Regions from separate parts of the Homo sapiens genome. Here region 2 is linked to region 1. Evidence: promoter capture Hi-C in human tissues and cell types (Jung and others, 2019). All regions are on one chromosome and are shown on one strand. Each heading gives the region's core, a stretch centred on a gene start or on the middle of the fragment in contact. The rest is flanking DNA. Distances are from core to core; before and after follow the strand shown.

Region 1 (3,561 bases), core at 590-3,089:
CATGCACTCGTGGTAGCCATAGTGGAAGTAGTTGGCAAACTCCGCTAGAAGTTCTGCTGGAGGAACGAGAAAGCCCGTAGGACGGACACACCCTGAGTGCCCCTTCCCCACGCGAGCCCAAAGCGGGTGCAGGGCACCTCCCACCACATTTTCTGGCCAAAGTTCCCATTTGAGGCCCGCCCTCTCCTCTGCGCAGTCTTAGAGACTGGCGAGGCACGCGCAAACGCCCTCTTTCCCTGAGAGCCTGACCCCACCCACCCCACCCGGGAGAAGGAGGTGGAACCAGCCTCCCTGGGAACCAGTTCTCCCTCGCCGCCTTGCTGTCGCCGAGCAGGGAGAGGCGCCTTCGCAGGACCCCTGCCCTCCTGGAGAGTGGAGCTCTAGTAGAGCTCTCGGGAACACTCAGTCACTCCCCTCCCAGCCCCAGGGTCTCTGGGTGGCGCAGGCGCCTGGCCCAGGCGTCCCATTCCCTAACCTGTGCCCACCTTTTTCCCTTCCCCGGGGAAAATCAGCGGAGTGCAGTGCTCTCAGGTACTGAACGGTCATCTCGAGGATCTCCGCCTTCTCCAGCTTCCCGGAACTCTGCAAAAGGAGGAAGGGCCCCTCGCAGCGGCCCAGCGCCTGCTGGTCGGGCACTGTGGCGCTGGAGAGGACCAGCGAGCGGACGCGGCTGCGGATCTGCGCCAGAGCCTCCTGAGGTTCGCCCTGCGCTCAGGCCCCCCGCCTGGGAGGGGCCCGCAAGTGAGGTCCTCTGTGTCCGCGGGCTCGGGCGTCTCCGCAGAGTGGCCGCAGAGGCCTCCCAACGCCTGGCACCCGGCTCCGGGTCGCCAACGTTACCTGCTTCGCCAAGGCCATGGGCACTGTCTTGCCCAGCTCGTTCAAGCAGCGGTTGATCCTGTCCCTCCTCCGCTTTTCTATCACTTTATGAGAAACGGGGGTTCTCTGCGAAGAGAGGGTTGTATGTTTAGGATGGCTTTGCCCGGGAAGTCGTCAAAGGCGCGGCTCTAGCAGCTGGGTGCAAGCCGCCTCTCCAGCCGCGCACACTGCTCAGATTCGCTCTAGGAAGGGACTCCTGGCCCGCCACGCTCGGGCCAGGTGAGCTCTGCCTTCTGACGCCCGCGCTGGCGCGCTCCCCTTCCAGCCACCCTACCCAGGCCTTTGGGGAGGTGGCCGCCAGCCTCCAGGCAGGACTTCTACCTGGTTGAGCACCCTCCTCTCTCTACCCCACCCCCTTCCCAAACCACTCGAGATTCCTCCACACTCAAAGTCCCGTGCGGGCACTTCCCTGCCATCGGTCCACCCAAGTGGCGGGTCGGTGAGTCAGATGCCTCCACCACCAGGGCGCAAGTGCCATTTGGGCTCAGCCGACTCACTTTGCGTTCCTTGAGCTTGTCTGACATCCTGGTCAGTACGCGCCCTCGGGAGAGGCGGTGGCGCGGGGCACCCGTCCACTTTTCCGCCTCGTGTGCCTCCTCGAGTGTCCCAGGTAGACTGCAGCCTCCCAACTCCGAGGGCTGCCTTATAAAGCGGTCATCTAGGGCTCCAGATGCATTCACGAGTTGAATTATTCCATAGGATTAGGGGAGCTGCGTTTGGAGGATGTATGCATTCAAGATCAGTTTTAAAGAAGTTAAGAAAAAAAAAAAATTAGCAGCCGAGGGGGGCGAGCTGGGGGCAGATCAGCTTTGTTAATCCACGTGGCCCTTCAAAGGACACGTGATCGGCCCAGGAATAACATTTGCATGGCAACAGCTCGGGCGGGAAAAGGAGGCGGTAAACTGGGGCCGGCGGGCGAGCAAGCGCCTGCAGCAGTCGCGGGCGCGGAGCGCAGGGGCGCAGCGGCCGCGGGCACCGGGGGGCGAGGACCCTCACAAAACAGTGTCGCCTCTTTTAGTCCCACCGCTGAGTCTCACATGATCGCCTGTTTACAAATCCCAGCAAGCCCGCCGTCCCAGCGCCGAGTGCGTTTTAAAGCCTGTCCAGAGTCATTAAAGTAATTAAGTAAGCCTTTAATAGGCTGTTCCGCCGGGTTCAAGGGAGAGCTCTTGGAGACGGAGGCGCCCCGTTTGTTCCCAGGCTTTTCTCACACGACTTGGTGACACGTCCTTCTCCCCCCTTTTTGTTTACACCGCTTTATTTGTCCGGACATCCCGGCAGGTGTGGGGCTGCGGCTGGCACACGAGGCTCCCGCCTCGCCTCGCCTCGCCCCTCCCGCCGCTGTTTGGCACGCGACGCTCCCCCCTACTCCCTGACCACGTCGCTGGCTTTCTTTTCTCCCCACCCCTCCTGCTCCCTCTTCGCGGGGGGAAGAGGCTCAATTTGTAGCCTATTATCCTATACGAAAATGTCCATTGAAAAGTATGAATAGTTTCATTGGGCTAAATTTTAATAATGCCAGAGGGTGGGGGAGGAGAGACTGGCGGGCGTGTGTGTGTGTTTGTGTGTGAAGGGGCGGGTGGGAGGATTGGGGGGCAACACGGAGAAGAGTGGGCCGAGAAGAAAAGGGGGAATGCAGCTGGCCCAGGCAAGCATTATGCAACGTCACCTGCGAGAGGGGGCGCCTACAGACCCCTATTCATTTGCCTAATTTTGGTCAATTTAACAAACTTCAGGAGAAATTATTGTGGCTTTGTCAGGGAGGGTGAAGCCTTCTGATCGAATTAACAGCATGTTTTGATCCGGTAAATGTCATTAGAAAGGGAGAAACAATCGCGCTTAGAGGGCTCTGAGTAATGCGCCCAAGTGGAGACGCCAAAGCGCACGGCTCACAAAGGGAGCAAGTAGCTGCCACAGGGAACTTTTGTACCCGCCCATCGCCCAAGTTTTGACACAAAAAGGCATTATTTCATACTTGAATACGTTTAATCCAACGATTGTCTATTTTCTGCAAACATATTTTCACAGCATTGTTAACTTTTTATGTCTCCCTTTCGCTGGCGTCTTTTCTTAACGTTTGGGGGCGGGAGAGCGCAGACACTTTGGGCATCAATATTTGTCACTGAAAAGGGCCCTGTGAAGTTTGGGAAGTTGATCTCTTTTTTATGGTTTTAGAAAGCGAAAATATCGGGGGGAGGAGGAGGGAGGGAAGGCACGAACAGAAACGAGGGAGGAAATTTGCTGGACGGGCCCAAGGGGAAGGAGGGGGGCGGCGGCGGCTGGGAACTCTCTTGGCCGCCTGCGCCTCTGAGGGCAACCTGGCCCCGCGGCCAGAGGCCACCTCCCCCAGGACGGGCCTCGCTCACACTTGCTGCCTCGGATCCTATACTCTGGGGGCTCTGAGCTTGTGGGGTGTGGGTGGGGGGTGAGCTTTCTTGCAGATTGAAACGATAAAAATGATTTTTGTTTTATGGCCCTTTCTAGAGCCACCGAACTCTCACCTCTCTAATCTTTTCCATCTGGGAACAGCTGAGACCGCTTCTCAGATTTTTCTTCTTTTCTGCCTGCCCCTAACCCTGCCTAAATTCTCTCTGTTCTGCAGGGAGATGGCAGGGCCCAGCGCCCCCCTTGGGGTCGTTAGACCTTGGCAGGGGTGGGTAGGCGGCGCTCTTCTAGCTGGTGGGA
Region 2 (3,561 bases), core at 597-3,096, 580 kb before region 1:
TGCCATTGCTCACCACTAGGTGGCGACAGAGTGCAGCTGCATTACAAATCTCTGCTTAAGCGACTTGCCATTTGAGTTACATCACCAAGGGGAAAGGGCGAAAGACAGTCTCCCCAGATAATCTATTTACATCACCTTATAGGACATTTGCACCTACCTCAGCGTCAAAATTAAGATGCTGATTTTAGCCAAGGTAGGCCAAGTAGTCCATCATAGTAATCTTTCATGCAATAGCGTGCACATCGAAATTACCATTTTGTTTCTTTTTCTGTTTGTTTTTTACCTATTTGTCGTATTAAGAAATTATCCAGTATCTTTGGGTTTTGGTTTACCATTCTGCAAAATGGAGTTGAATTGTAACCATTATTTTTTTTTACGTGACCGAGACACATGAGAATTAACCAATCAATGTCAGTGTCCCAGCTCTCTGTGTAAAACTGATGACGGACACCTTTACACAGCAGAGGAAATACATCTGTGGAAATGTGTATCCTTCATGGAATCCCTGAGGGGACCCGATTAACCCTCATCTTGTCCAACTCATTGATTTCAGAGATAGGGAAGCTGAGGCATCCCCAAGGTTATATGGTGCTTAACGCCCAAAACAGAAAGACGCAGATGAGCCGTCTTAGATAACTGTTCTTGCTACTCATTCCCTACTAGTCAAATGCCTTTAAAATAAACTATTTCAAGTACTGTAATTAGTCAGCTTTCCTCAAAACTGTCTCCTAGTTATCCACATTAACATGGAGGTGATTCTTGTTAAAGGTAAGCTTTGAAAAGTTCTAAAACTCGCCATTATAAGACACACACAACTTCTCTGCTACGAAAAGTCTTGATTGATTCTGGCCTCAGGATGTGAACAGTATAGAAAACTGATGATTTGTGTGTAAAAAGAGGGGCAGGGTTTGAAAGATATGAAGGAAGGGAAAAGAGAAATTGGGAAACAGGTAAAAGCAAGGACGGGGGCCGGGCGCAGTGACTCACGCCTGTAATCCCAGCACTTTAGGAGGCCAAGGCGGGAAGATCACAAGGTCAGGAGATCGAGACCATCCTGGCTAACATGGTGAAACCCTGTCTCTACTAAAAATACAAAAATTAGCTGGGCACGGTGGTGCGTGCCTGTAGTCCCAGCTACTCGGGAGGCTGAGGCAGGAGAATCGCTTGAACCCGGGAGGCAGAGGTTGCAGTGAGCCAAGATCACACCACTGACCTCTAGCCTGGTGGCAGAGTGAGACTCCATCTCAAAAAAAAAAAAAAAAAAAAAAAGCAAGGACGGTGCTGGCTGCCCCACACAGGAACATACGTTCTCCAGCCATGGACGTGGGATCCAGGAAGCTGCAGGTTTGCAGCAATCACCAAATTTTCATAATGGTCAATGGGACAGTTCAGTTAAATGATTGATGAGGTGGGTTGAGTTAAAGGAATTAAACTAGTAGAATTATAATGATGATAACTAAAAAGGGATATACGGACTTTAAAAGTTGATTGTTTTACATTAATGAACAATTTGATTTTTAAAGTGGTATTCACATTTTAACAAAAGAGCAATGAAATGAAACTAACCAGTTTTACAAAGCATTGGATGCCATGATGTAGAAGTTGAAACTTTTACTCAATTTTAAAATATTAAAATGGTTTAAATGTGTGAAAACAGGGATGCCAATTTTAGAGCATAATGAAATATATTTTACACAACATTTTCTCTTAAGACAAGAATAAATAATATTTTCTTATTCATAACTTTATTATGCACTGCAAATGGTGCTATGATTGTTTTGGGGAAAGAGTAGTAGCTATCTTGGTATATGATATGCAGTCTGGCATATTAGACATTTTCAAGTTACTTTTGAGTACAGTATTTTTCAGTGACTAACATGTACATTCTCAAAATCATATGGCTTTAATGCATACTCTTTGGCCAGAAGTTTTACTCCTGGGAATATATTCTAAAGAATAGTTCAAAAGAAGAAAATAGCTCTTTGCATAAAAAATGTGTATAGCATTGCTGTTTATGATAGCAAAAAAAAAAAGACTAGACCAATTCTAACTTCAAAACTAAAAAAAAAAGAGAGGAATGGTTAAGAAAACTATGATATGTAGACACACGTGGGAGAACATTATTCTGCAGACATTTGAAATAAGAAAGAAGACTGAGAAAAAAAGACTGGAAAGTTATTACAAAATAATATTAATGGCAATTGATGTATACAAATCTTACTTCTGCATGAAAGTTTTATACATATATAAAGTTTTATTGGACTGGAAGAGAACTTGAAATAGGTAATATGATACAGGCTTATCAATGACTTACAATTACCATCTTATATATTTAAATTGATTTAATAATATCTTGAATTAAATGACCTTTAAGATGGTTGGAAAACTGGTTAGTCATAATTTTTCTTAAAATATGAATATCTTCCAATTTTAATAATAGATACATCATTAGTAGTCATATTGATTTACAGGAGTAAACTATTTCACTCTTAAGTCATAATTGTGTGCAGTAATTCTTACGCACTCTAGTTTTAAATATTCTATCCACAGACTGTTGAGTGAAATTTCTAAGAACACTGTTAATAAAGGTTTCCAGTTAACCGAGTCAGAGCTTACAGTTTTAGTACTGTGAGTACCTAGTCTTATGCTAGATAGACAAGTAGGATAGAAAGGGGGTGGATAAAGAATTTAGGAAGTGGGTGAATCATTGACTCGTAGACTGAAAGGAACCTCAGAATTATCCATCCAAGCTTGGATCAGTGGGGTTTCTATGGACAATTGGCAGCAAGAGATTTCAGCCTATCAGTAATCCACTCATAACTATGGAAATCTAAGAACTGGTCCCAAAGTCTAAGGACATGGATCTAATAGCTATTTCAGTAGTCATCAAACAGTCACTTATATAATTGCCATGCAAATTCTGATTTTACCCTGTAGCTATCATTTAGAAGCAAATGCTTTTGAAATGGATTATGAATGATTTGTTTGCATTTCTCCCCTAAAAGGTAAAGTTTAGGTAGTCAATATAAATTACACTGAGTTTATATATTCAACAAACATGTTAACTTTCATTCACTGAAAATATTAATGTGGGTATATGGGATGCTAAGGCTTGTCATTTCCAATATTATAAGTATCTATTACAGATACTGGTCTTGATGCTTAGTTTAAAAAGAAAAGAAACTCTTTTGAGAGTTCAGTGCACTGGAAATTTCTACCAATGTTTCTCTTCTAAGGTAAAATGTTACATGTTACCCGGATATTGTTCGTTGCATTCCAAAGTTCTGTTTTCTCTTTTTAAAAATGCATGTTTTCTCTCCACATTGAGAACAGAAAATGTTAATTCAAATGTAGCATGGGATGTCTGCCTATTGATATTTTCCTCTGTGCTGTATGTGAAAATGTTGTCTGTGAAGGAAAGATTGAAAGAATGAGTGTGGATACTTTGCTGTTAAACTAAATGTGGTTTATTTTCTGCTTGTTTGAGAAAACGCTGGAGAATAAGGTTGTATGAAGGTGTCTATATTTCCTATTCTAGTGGTTTGCCGTCTATGTTCTTGC

The links. The method cuts DNA at HindIII sites, captures the fragments that hold promoters and counts their contacts. A contact is called where the count stands out against the background at its distance.
Region 2: a fragment that was not itself captured here is called in contact with the fragment with the promoter of HELT in region 1 in 1 of the 25 tissues and cell types used here (lymphoblastoid cells).

What each region holds. Positions count from the first base shown.
Region 1 is chr4:185,016,768-185,020,328 of GRCh38, reverse strand. HELT (helt bHLH transcription factor) reads right to left here and starts at 1,839. Exons shown (of 4, transcript NM_001300781.2): 1 at 1,374-1,839; 2 at 838-942; 3 at 486-582; 4 at 1-56. The coding sequence starts at 1,400. RefSeq lists enhancers at 1-135, 850-1,429, 1,430-2,008, 2,009-2,589. The HindIII fragment of the contact is 22,587 bases long and covers 1-3,561 here.
Region 2 is chr4:185,594,239-185,597,799 of GRCh38, reverse strand. All of the region lies in intron 24 of SORBS2 (sorbin and SH3 domain containing 2), which reads left to right. Among named protein-coding and RNA genes, the nearest start is that of SORBS2-AS1, 8.1 kb to the right of the region's middle. The HindIII fragment of the contact is 3,647 bases long and covers 23-3,561 here.